2 separate regions of the Homo sapiens genome follow, and region 1 is linked to region 2. The links are contacts of gene promoters, found by promoter capture Hi-C in blood cells and fetal thymus (Javierre and others, 2016). All regions are on one chromosome and are shown on one strand. Each heading gives the region's core, a stretch centred on a gene start or on the middle of the fragment in contact. The rest is flanking DNA. Distances are from core to core; before and after follow the strand shown.

Evidence for each region. The method cuts DNA at HindIII sites, captures the fragments that hold promoters and counts their contacts. A CHiCAGO score of 5 or more calls a contact.
Region 1: a fragment that was not itself captured here is called in contact with the fragment with the promoter of MLF1 in region 2 in 1 of 17 cell types (M1 macrophages); the score reaches 8.8 in M1 macrophages.

Annotation. Positions count from the first base shown.
Region 1 is chr3:157,626,658-157,633,254 of GRCh38, reverse strand. No RefSeq gene overlaps it. Among named protein-coding and RNA genes, the nearest start is that of VEPH1, 130 kb to the right of the region's middle. RefSeq lists an enhancer at 6,347-6,516. The HindIII fragment of the contact is 6,424 bases long and covers 1-5,788 here.
Region 2 is chr3:158,568,044-158,574,803 of GRCh38, reverse strand. It overlaps MLF1 (myeloid leukemia factor 1), which reads right to left and starts at 3,610. Exons shown (of 8, transcript NM_001369783.1): 1 at 3,457-3,610. The coding sequence starts at 3,503. MLF1-DT (MLF1 divergent transcript) reads left to right here and starts at 3,738. Exons shown (of 5, transcript NR_104147.1): 1 at 3,738-4,633; 2 at 6,748-6,760. The HindIII fragment of the contact is 5,771 bases long and covers 1-5,305 here.

The DNA of each region.
Region 1 (6,597 bases), core at 1,327-3,826, 940 kb after region 2:
GTACCCTTACACTGGGGGATAGGGCTTCAATTTATGAATTTAAGCAGACACAATTCAGTCCATAACAGTAGGGTTGACAAAATTTGAATATGGGCTAAATTTACATAATAGCATTGTGCCAATGTTAAATGGAATTTATAATACTGTGGTCATGTAAAAGAACATTCTTCCCCTTAGGTCATATACATTAAAGTATTTAGGGACAAGGAGAATCGTTGTACACAACTTACTTTCACATGGTTAAGAAAAGCAATTATAGAAGAGTGTGTGTATGTGTGTGGTGGGGGCAGATAAAGAAAGAGGGAGGGAGATAATGAAATGGAGCAAAATGATAACAGTTGGTGAAGATATATAAAAGGTATATAGGAGTTCTTTTTATTAGTCTTGTAATTTTCTTTAAATTTGGAATTATCTAAAAATAAAAGTTGGGGTTTTTTTGTTTTGTTTTTGTTTTTGTTTTTTTGAGATGGAGTTTCGCTCTTGACACCCAGGCTGGAGTGCAATGGTGTGATCTCAGCTCACTATAACCTCTGCCTCGTAGGTTTAAGGGATTCTCCTGCCTCAGCCTCCCCAGTAGCTGGGATTACAGGCACCCGCCACCACGCCCAGCTAAGTTTGTTTGTTCAAAATAAAAGTTTTTAAAAGTTTACCAGTATCTTTCCAGGGTAGGCTGGGGGACAGGGTGCAGGGACGAAAAGAAACACATATATATTCATGGAGATTGCCAACTTGTGTCCTGATATGTCGCCAAGAGCAGATATTGGGACAGGGTGATGTAAGAGTGAGGTTGGTCCTCAGACTCTTGGACAGATGCCTGGGTAGTGGCTGATTTGCAAACAGAACCTCTCTAATTTTATTTCACTAACATTTCAAATTGCCTGCTAATGTATCTACAAATCAAATGGACAAAATGACCTCTGTTAAATTCTCCATCCTTTTAAGAGAGTCATATGTAACTGACACTCTCAGTACTATGTGTCATGTGCCAGGCACATACCAAATCATAAAAATGTCCTAAGGCATTAATTATCGCAGCTAAGGAGAGTAAAGACAGTGGCTCCTGCTAATTGTCAAAGTCCCCTGTGTGACTGCACACTGCCACACACACAGTCGGAGCTTAAGAAACACGAATTGGTGATGAAAGTTGCCATTCTTCTTCCTTTGCAGGAAACAGCAGTGATTAAGTTGGGGGAACACATCAAAAACCCCCATGCCTGCTCAGGCACAAACACTGCAACAGAACTTGGATCCCAAGCAAGTGGTGGATGCCCTGCAATAGCGATCAGCAATTCTGTTTGATTTAGGAAGTGCTAATCAATAACGAGTCCAACTTGGAAAACTGCACTGGCTTAATCATTTTGCATCTGGTATCCAGGACTGACACACCCCAGCTGGAAGGGAGGAAAAGAGGCATAAGGAGAGAGAGGGAAGTAGAAGAGGGATGTGTGGTGGGGGGACACAAAAAAACAAGTTCATGAAAACCGAGTAAACCTTTCTGGAGTTAAAAATCGTTTCAACTTTCAAAGACGAAATCTCACCCCCAAGTGAAAGACATGACATAAATGCAAAGGCAAGTGAAGATAAACAAAAGGCCCCGCTCAGATGTTCCCGAGGTGATCCGTCATTGTCAAGGAATTCTTTACACATCATAATGATTCCGAGCACCCTGCCAGCTTGTCTCACGTACTATTTCTATATCTTACAGGATTTTTTTTCTTTCCTCCAGTAAACAGCACTTTACAACACAAGGTTTGACTGTAATTTTCATCAAACTGCAACTTGTGCAGGTTTGTGAGAGATGTCTTATTACTTAAATCCAGCTGTACGGCTCTTTTACCTTCAAGGACTGTTCCCTTGATACACCCTGTCAGCTGAGGGTGGCAGGATAACAATTAGCCTGCAAATCCATCCATTTAAATTAAAAACAAAATGCAACGGGATTGCAGGCAGAATGTGTTCAAATTCCCTTCCTATGGATTCAAGGTGGGCCCAGCCCTCCTCCTGGACCAAGGATACCTGGAGACTGGACTCTGGGGGTTGGTGACAGAGGGGAGAAGGCAAGACACAGTCCCGGCCCATTGGCTTCAGCTGTGAACCATCGTTGTGGAGGCAAATCTGCAGCTGAAAACTAGGCTGGCAGGCCAGCTGGTTGCCCATCTGAAGAAGCTAAGCACTAGCAGAGGTGCAGGTCCAGGGTAAGGCAAATGGGTGGAAAATTGAGAGCAGGACACCCAGCAAGACGTTCTGAACAAAAGGCCAGAGGTAGAGCCTCCCAGGACTGCAGGCTCATATCTTCAGATGCCTCTGACATCACTGAGAGGAGAGGAGTAGAAGGGGGGAAGGAAGAGGTTTTAGGGGTCCTCAGGAAGCCAGGATTCTGATGAAGGAAAAATATTGAACTGGGTAAGTTTTCTTGGCTACTTCAACACTAATATTTTGGGGCAAGCTAATTTCTCTTTGTGAAAATAAAAATGAACCCAATATAATGATGACTCTTTTGGCAATTTTCTGGGGTTTTGGTCAGATTGTTTTCTTGATGTTTTTGCCCTAAATCAATGCTTTTCATGAATAACAAGAAGATCTAAACAAGTAGAAATGACACTAAAGATATCACTGTACACCCATCAGATTGTCAATGGAACTCTCATTCCCTGAGGAGGGGAATATAATTTAGCTCCCATTGGAGAGCTCCTGGGCAGTTACTGGTTGATAGAGGTTCCCTCATTTATTGAGCAGTCTAGTCTCATTGGATAATAAACATGATGAGATTTTATTCCCTCTGACGAATGCCCAAACTGCACTACGTTGAGTCTCCCTGCCAGCTGAGGACAAGCTCTCTTAATAACCTTTGGCCAAATTCTCTAGCTTTTATCCCTTTTGCTTATTGGTGTGTTTAAAACTCAGTCCTGTTTGTTTCCAAGCATTGATCTCTTATCTGATGCGAAGCTCTTTTCCTCCTTCTCTTGGCTACAGCTACTGCTAGGGCTCTCTTAGCCGGTGGAGGTGGAGTCCCAGCTGGCAGACTCTCAGATACCAACTTTCTATGTCTCCAGAGAAAAGGGAAAACAGCAAAGTTATTTCCTGTGTGATTAGGTGAGGGTGCAATCTTCTTCCTGTAGTGCTAGCTACATCTCTGGCCCATGCCAATGAGCTCTTGATGTCCTCCTCCACATGGCAACATCCAATTGCTGGGCTCTCATGGGGCGCAGGTATGGATTCTTTGAAGGGCTCCATGGGAACTTATCCCCTGAGTAATTGTCTGACATGGGATCTAACCTGCCTTCACTTCCTCCACCCTGCCTCAGTGTCTTGACAGAGCATGATGTTCCCCTAGAGAATGGCACTCTGGTGGAGTACTACAAAGGTGGCTGAAGTCCAGGCATGCTCCTTGATGTTCTCTCAACTCATGTAAACCAGCAGTGGTATATTTGCCATGCTAAATGGTGGGAGGGCAGGTGTCCCTCTCTCAGTCCTATCTTCTCTCCTGCCTCCTCCTCCACACCCTGGCAGCATCAGGCACTCTGAAGGTCCAGGCTCTCACCCAATTTCCCATGAAAGAGGACCAGACTCTGACTGAGTTATATGTGGAAGGGAAGGAGAATGATTCTGACAGATGCACAGAAAACCTTTATCAGTGATTATCTTTGGTCTTCCTTCCTTGGCTTTTATAGTGAATATTGTGGTTATGTGAAGAGAGGGAATATCCTCTCTTCATGAACTTAGTACTACCTCCAAAGGCCCCCTCCTTTCTTCCTGTTCTCTCCTTAAGTTGACTTGGGTGGAAGTGATTAGAATAACCTATTCTTAGCATTGGTGCTTCTCAGTATGCCCTCCTGGAAAGTAGCTGATCACAACTGCTATGACATGACTTCATAGTGGTTATATGGAATGTTGGGAACATAACATTTTTTGTCCTAATCTTTAGGCCGTAGACACAATTCTGATACAACAGGGAAAATAAAATAGAACATGTGGGTAGCAGACCACCCATCAATTCTAGCCTACGTATGTATCCTAGAGAAATTCTCACACATATGCATGAAGAGAAGTCTACAAGAATATTTCTAGCAGTATTATTTATAATCATGAAAAATTGAGAAAAATCTAAATTTTCACAGTAATGGAATGAGTAAATAAAGTGTGGAAGCTGGGCTGGTATTCAGCCAGGTGTGTGCAGGTACACATAGATACAGAGTTACTGCTGTTTATGTGTGTTGGTTGGTTCCAGAGCCATGCCAGTTGCTAAATATTTTGAATATGACTTCCTAATCATCTGATTGACTACATTATAAACACAAAAATGAATAAACTAAGTCAATATTGATCAACATGAATAGGTCTCAAATGTTGGCTCAAAAAACAGCAGAAAGAAAAATGATAAAATGTACGTATAATTTTAAAAGTATACAAAAGAATGTTGTTTGTGATTTATGTATATGTAAGTATTGATTATATAAAAACATGGGTAGGAAATGTTGCATCAAATTTGTGATAATGGTAGCCTCTGGGGTGGAAGGGGAGCTGAATTGGGGAAGAATACAGAGGGAACATCATCTTTACCAGCTGTGTTTTATTTCTCACCTTAAAAAAAGTTCTGGATACCAAAAGCAAGAACAACAAAAGGAAAAATAGATAAAGTGGACTTCATTAAAATTTAAAACTCTTAAGCACCAAATGACATTATCAAGACAGTGAAAAGATAACCAAGAGAATGGGATAAAATATTTGGAAACTATGATCTGATAAGCGTTTAGCATTCAGAACATGCAAAGAACTCCTATAATGCAACAACAAAAAGACAACCCAAATTTTTTAAAAAGGGAAAAGAATTTGAATAAACATTTCATCATAGAAGATAAACAACCAATAAACACATAAAAAGATGCTTAATATCATTAGTCATTAGGAAATGCAAATCAAGACCACAATGAGATACTTCACTCACACCAACTAAAATGGCTATTTAAAAAACAGTAACAACAACAACAACAACCAAAACTAAAATCAAAAAATGGAAAATAAGTGTTGGCAAAGATGTGAAGAAATTGGAATTCTCATACCTTGCTTGTGGGGAAATGGTACATCTGTTATGAAAGACAGTTCGGTAGTTCCTCAAAAAGCTAACCATAGAGTTATACATGACCCAGCCATTCCACATCTAATTATATACCCAAAGGAACTAAAAGCAGGGACTCAAACAGATAACTATATGCCAATGTTCATTATAAGATTATTCACAATAGCAAAAGATAGAAGCAACCCAAGTGTCCACCAGCTGATGAATGGATTTTTCAAATGTGATCTATACATACAATGGACTATTATTTAGTCATAAAAAGAAATGAAATTCTGATACATGTTACAATATGGATGAACCTTGGAAACATTTTGCTAAGTGAAATAAGCCAGATACAAAAGAACGAATATTGTATGATTCCACTTATGTGAAATGTCTAGAACAAGCAAATTCATAGAAACAGAAAGTATATTAGAGATTACCAAGGTCAAAGGAAAGGGAGAATGAGAACTTGTTCAATGGTTATGAAGTTTCTGTTTAGGGTGATGATCAAATTTTGGTGGTGAAAACCATAGTGGTGGTAGTTGCACAATATTATGAATGTAATTAATGACACTAAATTGTACACCTAAAATGGTTAAAATGGCAAATTTTATGTCATATATATTTTACCATAATTTTAAAAAAGAATATATTATACCAAAAACCATTGAATTGTACACTTTAAATAGGTGAACTGTAGAGCATATAAATTCTGCCTCAACAAAAGCTTTTTAAAAGATCTGAAGGAAATATGACAAAATACAAATATTTATTAATTCTTGGAAATGGGTAAAGATGTTTAATTATTTTCTGTACTTGTCTAATAGTTCAAAAACAATTTTCTAAATCAAAGAAACAAGACAAGAATCAAGGGGGTGGGAGAATGATATAATAAAGAGAATATAAACACTTAAGAAGAGAGAAATAAAACAGACAACATTACCACCTCATCACACTTGGAAATACCTGTGCATCTGGAAGCAAACCATCTGTCTGCCCACTATTTACTGCAAAATGGTGAAAGAAGGAAATATTGACCAAAAAAAGAATTTGTTGTTCTTCTATTTTTCATTTGCACTATACAGGTACTAAGAGGCTAGTGTTTGTTTACCTGGAGATGCTTATCTCTACTAGTGGGAGAGGACAGTCAGAAGCACCTGGGGCATGTTGGAACGTTCCCAAGTTCACTCATCCCATTCCAGGGTTCCACACTGCTCTGAAATCACTCTTCCTGGGAACTCATATTGCCACTCCCACCTTTGCTCCACAGCGTATATCCCTGATCTAGAGCAATGGTTCAGTGACACTCTGCTCACAATGCCAACGACTAGTCCACAGCTGCTGAAGAAGAGGCCAGGATATGCCTTCCTGCCCTCTTGGCTAGAACTGTGGGGTGAGTAGGGGAAACATGATGCTCTAGGCCAAGCTGTCTGAAAGGAGACACTGTGTGGTCAAATGTGTGTTTGGTAGATATTCTACAGTGCACACAAGGATGAGTTGAGATTGGAAAATAAAAGATTCAAAATTCGATACCGCCA
Region 2 (6,760 bases), core at 2,361-4,860:
TGGATTTGTAGTACTGTGATTCTCTTGAAAGCCAGAGCTTATGTAATACAAAATAATAAAATTATGGATTTTACAAAATAATATTCTCTGGCTAAATATTCTTTTTTTTTTTTTTTTTTGAGACAGTGTTTCACTCTTGTTGCCCAGGTTGGAGTGCAATGGCGCAATCTCGGCTCACTGCAACCTCCACCTCCTGGGTTCAAGTGATTCTCCTGTCTCAGCCTCCCAAGTAGTTGGGAGTATAGGTGTGTGTCACCATGCCTGGCTAATTTTGTATTTTTTTTTTTTTTTTTTTTTTAGTACAGATGGGGTTTCACCATGTTGGTCAGGCTGGTCTCCAACTCCTGACCTCTGGTGATCCACCCACCTCGGCCTCCCAAAGTGCTGGAATTACAAGCGTGAGCCACCAAGCCTCGCCTCTGGCTTTCAAAAGAGAGAATCACAATAATACAAAAATTTAAACCTGTTAAAATAACACTGTCCATATCCCAACAGCTCCTAAACACGTTAACTAAAATGGCATAATAAATTTGCCTGAGTTCATGTATGCCTTAATAAATAATCTTCAGAAAAAAATTTTAATCATTTTATTTTTCTATATTAACCATTTCATTTCCCACTGTTCATTATCTTTTTATTAATGTTATTTTGCTTTAAATTAGTACTAACATATTTAAGTCAATCATTTATTTAAACAACAACATTGGCTAGGTGCAGTGGCGCATGCCTGTAATCCCAGCATTTTGGGAGGCCGAGGGAGGCAGATCACTTAAGCTCAAGAGTTTGAGACCAGTCTGGGTAACACGGCGAAACCTCCTCTCTACAAAAAAAATTAGCAGGGTGTGGTGGCTCCCTCCTGTGGACCCAGCTACTTGTGAAGCTGAGGCAGGAGGATCGCTTGAGCCTGGGAGGCAGAGGCTGCAGTGAGCCGAGAGCAACCCACTGCACTCTAGCCTGGGCAACACAGTGAGACCCTGTCTCAAACAAACAAACACAGACGCACAACACACCCCCCACAGATATTGTTTGAAAAATATGTGCAATAAACTCTTATTTTAAGACCTTTTTAAAAAATGCTCTCCAAATTGCAAACCTAGAAAATTTAAGGGATCAAAATAAACTAGACTTGAAATCAAAATTCAAACTGGCAAAAAACACTTAGGCTAAAAAGTATTACAAATTTCCCCTCTTAGGGATACAACTAGACTATGTCAATGTGTTTGTAACAATGGCCAAAGTTAGAATTAAGGAAAAAAAATCCCACAACTCAAAAATAAATAATAGTGAAACCAATTTCTGGATGCCTTCTTTCTAGGGCATCACATTACTTCACTGGGAACCTTCAAAGGCAACGAATGGCACTTGCTTACCTGAGGTGTTAAATACACACCCCCCCCCCCCCGCCGCCCTCCTCCCGCCCCCCTCCCCCCGCCCCGCCCCATCAGCTTCCCTGTCCTATTTCTAGTTTTGACAGAAAGCGGAGTCCCTTCACAAACAAGGTTAGCTCTGTAACAAAGCGAGCAAAGAAAACAGCGCAATTGGCATGGCAACTTCCAACAACTTCGAAGAGAAAGCACAACTCTCCAACTTTGTCGTGCTCTCATTGACACATTCCCCACTCACATGGAAAATGCTGTTTTAAAAACTTCCCCTTTTCAATGAACTGTCATGCTATAAAATATTACCTGTTCCTATTTGGAATTTAAAGAGGAGCTATAAAATATTCCCTGCTCCCATTTGCAATTATGTGAACATAATTCTCACCATAAGTTTCACCGAGATGGTAGTTATGTCACCTGCAAAGCCCTTGAAGCTGCAAAGGCCAACTCTGCACACAGGAAGCCATGACGGGCACCCAAAGTCCGGCCAAATGGAAAGCAGCAGGCACCCCGGGAGTGTGAGGAAGGGCCTTCTTTCCATCTCATGCAGCCAAATCCTCCTCCCCCTACCTGGGGCCCTCAACTCTCTACCTCACGTCCTCAACCATCCTCCTGCGACCTCACGCCCCCAAACCCTCCTCCCCCCACTGCACGCCATCAACTCTCCTCTGTCCACCTCACACCCTCAACCCTCCTACCCCCACACCTCATGCCCCTAAACCCTCTTCCCCACACCTCATGCCCCCAAACCCTCCTCCCTCCACCTCACGCCCCAACCCTCCCTCGTCCCACTACCTCTCACCCTCAAACCTCTTCCCCCTACCTCACGCCCTCAACCCTCCTCCCACATCATGCTCTCAAGCCCTTCCCACCAACTCACGCCCTCAACCCTTCTCCCCAACCCTCCTCCCACACCTCATGCCCCCAAATCCTCCTCAGCCCCTAAATCCTCCTCCATCCACCTCACACCCTCAACCCTCTTACCGCCACCTCACGCTCCCAAACCATCCCCACCAACTCATGCCCTCAATCCTCCCCTGCACTTCATACTCCCAAACCCTCCCCACCAACTCACGCCCTCAACCCTCGTCCCTGCACTTCAAGCTCTTAACTCTCCCCTGCACCTCATGCTCCCAAACCGTCCCCCCACCTCACGCCCTCAACCCTCCTCCCCCCACCTCGCGGTCCAAAACCCTCCTTCCCCTCACCTCACACCCTCAACCCTCCCCCACACCTCATGCTCCCAAATCCTCCTCCCACCTCACGTCCTCAACCCTCCTCCTACACCTCACACCTTCAACTCTCCCCCACACCTCATGCTCCCAAACCCTCCCCCCACCTCACGCCCTCAACCCTCCTCCAAACGCCTCACACCCCCAAATCCTCCTTCGTCCATCTCACACCCTCAACCCTCCCCCCTCCACCTTACTCCCCCAAACCCTCCTCCTCCCACCCCACGCTCCCAAACCCTCCCCCCACCTCACAGCCTCAACCCTCCTCCCCCCACCTCACGCTTTCAAACCCTTCCCCCACCTCACGCCCTCAACCCTTCCCCTCACCTCACGCCCTCAACCCTTCCCCTCACCTCACGCCCTCAACCCTTCCCCTCACCTCACACCCTCAACCCTTCCCCTCACCTCACGCCCTCAACCCTCCTCCCTCCCACCTCATGCTCCCAAACCCTTCCCTCACCTCACGCCCTCAACCTCTTCTCCCCACCTCATGCCCTCAATTCTCCTCCCCCCACCTCCCGGCCTCAACTCTTCTCCCCCCACTCCCAGCCTTAACTCTCCTCCCCACACCTCACGCCCCCAAACTTCCCTCCGCCTACCTCACGCGTCCAAACCCTCCTCTCTCCACCTCATGCGCCCAAATCCGTCTCTTCCCTGTCTCACACACCCCTAAATCCTCCTCTCTCTTCCCTCCCAGGCCTCCAAATCCTCGTCTCCTTCAAACCGCCTCCAGAGTTACTCCGAATTCTCTCTCGCCCTCTAAAACTCGCTCTTTTCCCTTAAAATAGCTCCCCTCGATACCTTAATTCCCGCGCGACCCCGGACTCCTGGCTCCCGTAACTCACGAGAAGAAGGGGTCATCCTCAAAACTGCTGTTCAGCATCCTGAACATTCTGGCTCTGTCTTGGGTGGCGGCAGCCGCGGACAGATTGGAAAAACGATGTTAACTCGCCGCGGCCGCGACAAGAGCTAGCCTCCAGTACGGACGACGCCTCACTCGCCGCGGCGCAGGCGGTGCCCGCCGGGATAGGAGGTGCGTGACACCGAGCTGCTTTCCCATTGGACATTGCTCTGTGACGTCACCAGGACGAGGCGGGGAGCAATGCGCCGCTGCCCTGGCAACCGCAATCAACACAGTGGAGGCGAGAAGTCTGGCCTTGCGCCGGCCGGGGAGCTTTTCGCCAAGGCTCCTGTGGGATGGGATAGCTTGTTCTCTGGGCTGCAGGAACCAAAACATTAGACCACCCTTTCTGTGACCTTGGGCATGCCGCCCTCGGTTCCGAGCCGCAAGTCTTTCTTTCGGGGAAAATGAAAAGGGGTCAAGATTTGGACCAGATGACACCCAATGTCCCATTCAACGGTCGCATTCTGTCATCCACAGGAATTAGTCCTGTATCCGAAACATTCTCTGGTAGTCAAAAGCTGTGAGCAAATAATAAGAAAAAATGTGCAAAACGTTTTTTAGTACAGTTAGCAAATAGTGTACTCAGTTGTTGAAGGAAATGGGATGAAGCCTATCAGATTTCAACAAACTTATTTACCTCTTGAGAAAGCTGCTCTCTTTTCGGTTGTCCTTCTGTGTCTCTCTTTCAAAGATCAAGTCTCACTGCGATGCTGATATGTTTTTAACACTTCTCCAGCATTTCTTAACCTAACAGCAGGTTTCAGGCACAGGCCTGCAGCAAGCAGCCATATCCAACTAAAATTCCACTACTATATGTTTTTATTTGCATTACATTTATCAGGGAGCTTTCTATTTATGGCAAGGAAACTGATTTTAAATTTAAATCAGTGATATACATCAAGAGCTAGATTTTGCATTTTTAAGTGAAAAAGTAAGCTATCAAATAGAACAGGTGGAATTTGGATATGGTGGGGCGGAGGGGTAGGCAGAGCAGGGGAGAGGAACATCGTGATAGTGGTACTCAAATTACTAAGTTTTAGAAAACACTATCACGGGGCCTTTCAGGAGCCTGGAGACAGATGGAGGGGAAGACAGAAGAGAGATTAAGGAGAAGAATGGTAAGAGTATAAGAAAAGAGAAAATACATCTTGCATGTCCACCCTTAATTCAGTGAGCTCCCCAGCTTCTCTACGTGGCTGTCTTGCAGAGATAAAGGGGCGTCCATAGCTCATCAGGGCCCCCTGGGATCAGGCCAGAGGGGTGGCACTTTGCCAGCATGAAGAAGTGTGCAAGCCCTGATTTGGAGGTGACAGGAGTAGTCAGGGGTTATTTTGAGAGCTGGAAATTTAATCGTTTGGATCTTTTACTCCCCATCCCCCTTTTTTAGCCAAGTTCTCTGGCAGCTTCCTTCCCCTGAGACTGGTGGCATGGGGTAGGGCAGACTTCACAGCCCAAGATGAGATGGCACAGCCCATCCAGGAAAGAGGATATTTTCTTTTCCTCTGGACTCAGAATAAAGCTCAGAGAACATATACACAAAATTTCGAAAATTTCTAAATAAATTTCAAGGCAAACAAAATTGTTTTATAAGACCTTAAATTGTTTTTCTCTTTAAAATAGTATAAGCACAAGATGTGAAGGAGGCCACACTTAAAAAAAAACTTGAAATGGAGTAAGTTATGTGATAAAAGATGGTGTTAAAATAGTTCTGGATTAAGGCCAAGTAAATTTGTAATGTTACCCTCTAGTTTCTGTGGGAACTTTTTTAGAATCACATTGTTATAAAAGCTTTAGTCCAGGCACAGGTTAGTCAGGGAATTAGCTGAACCTTGTGAAAGCAGTTTGGATCTAATGACAAATGCAAAAAAAAAAAAAAAGGAGGGCAGAGCAGAGTTGGCACTGAAGAGACCTTGACATCATTTTCAGAACTGATGGGTAAGAGGTGGAAATGAAAGAAAGCGTGGGTCAGGAGAGAATGAATACTCCAGCATGGGAGGAATAGAGATGCAGAACAGGACTGAGAGGAGAGGGTCCTGGACTTGGCTGTAAATATAATCATAATAGCTAATATTTATTGAATGTGTGCCAGGCACTGTTGTAGGCACTCCATATGCATTACCTCATTGAATCCTCATTAGCAGTTTTATGGAGTAGAGATGGCTTTTATCCCCATGTATAGATGATGCATTCAAGACACAGAGAAGCTGAATAAATTGCCAAGGTTCACACAGCTAGTAATTGAACTGAGCTGGGTACCTGGAGCTTTCCTCTGTGAGTGCTGGTTATATGGTATGTGAGTGATGAGTCATACTTAAAGATGCAGGATGAAAGCGGGTAATCATTTTTCAAAATCATGCTGACAAGCTAAATGGACCCAAACTAAAAAGTACAAAATTCAGTGGGAATATATTCACATCACATAAATTCAATTCTACAAATATTTATTGAGTGACTACCCAGTGTTGGGGACTGATCTACGACCTTAGGCATCATTGAACAAAACGGACAAAAATCTCTGCCTTCCCGGAGTTTATGTTCTTGTAAGGACAGACTCAAAATAAACAAAATAGAAAATAGTATATTGTAAGGTGATAAGTGTTAGGGAGAAAAGCTGATCAGGGTAAGGAGTATGGAGAGGTGCAATTATAAATAGCAAGTTTTGTGTACGCCTCACTAAGGGGAATTTGAGCAAAGACCCACAGGAAGGAAGTGGATGTCTAGTGGAAAAGCATTCCAGGGCAGTGCTAAAGTAGCATTTGCCTGGTGTATATAATGTACAGTCCTACTCATATGCCTTAAAACTCACCTTCTGAGTGAGGAATGAGATGAGCCAAGTAAACTGAAAATTGCCTAATAGGGTAATAGCTCTCATTTACACTTCATATATTCCAAGGATTGCACTAAGTGCTTCACATATGTTTTCTCGTTTAACCTTTACAGCAACCATGTCTAATATTATGTTTATCCCTAAATTGCATTAAAAAAAGCTGGGACCCAGATAAATTTGATAATTGAATTTTGATAATTGATTTGAAAGTTGATAATTTGATTAAATTTTGATGATTGAAATTTGATGTCACTCAATTCAAACCCAGATTTGTCTTACCCCAAAGCCTGTATCCTCACCACCATCCGTACTTTGCCTCCCTATTTTAAAAATTAACTATTTATGGAGCAAATATTTGCAGTAAACACTTTTACATCTATAATCTGTAACTACACTGTTGCTTAGGTTTCATTTGGAA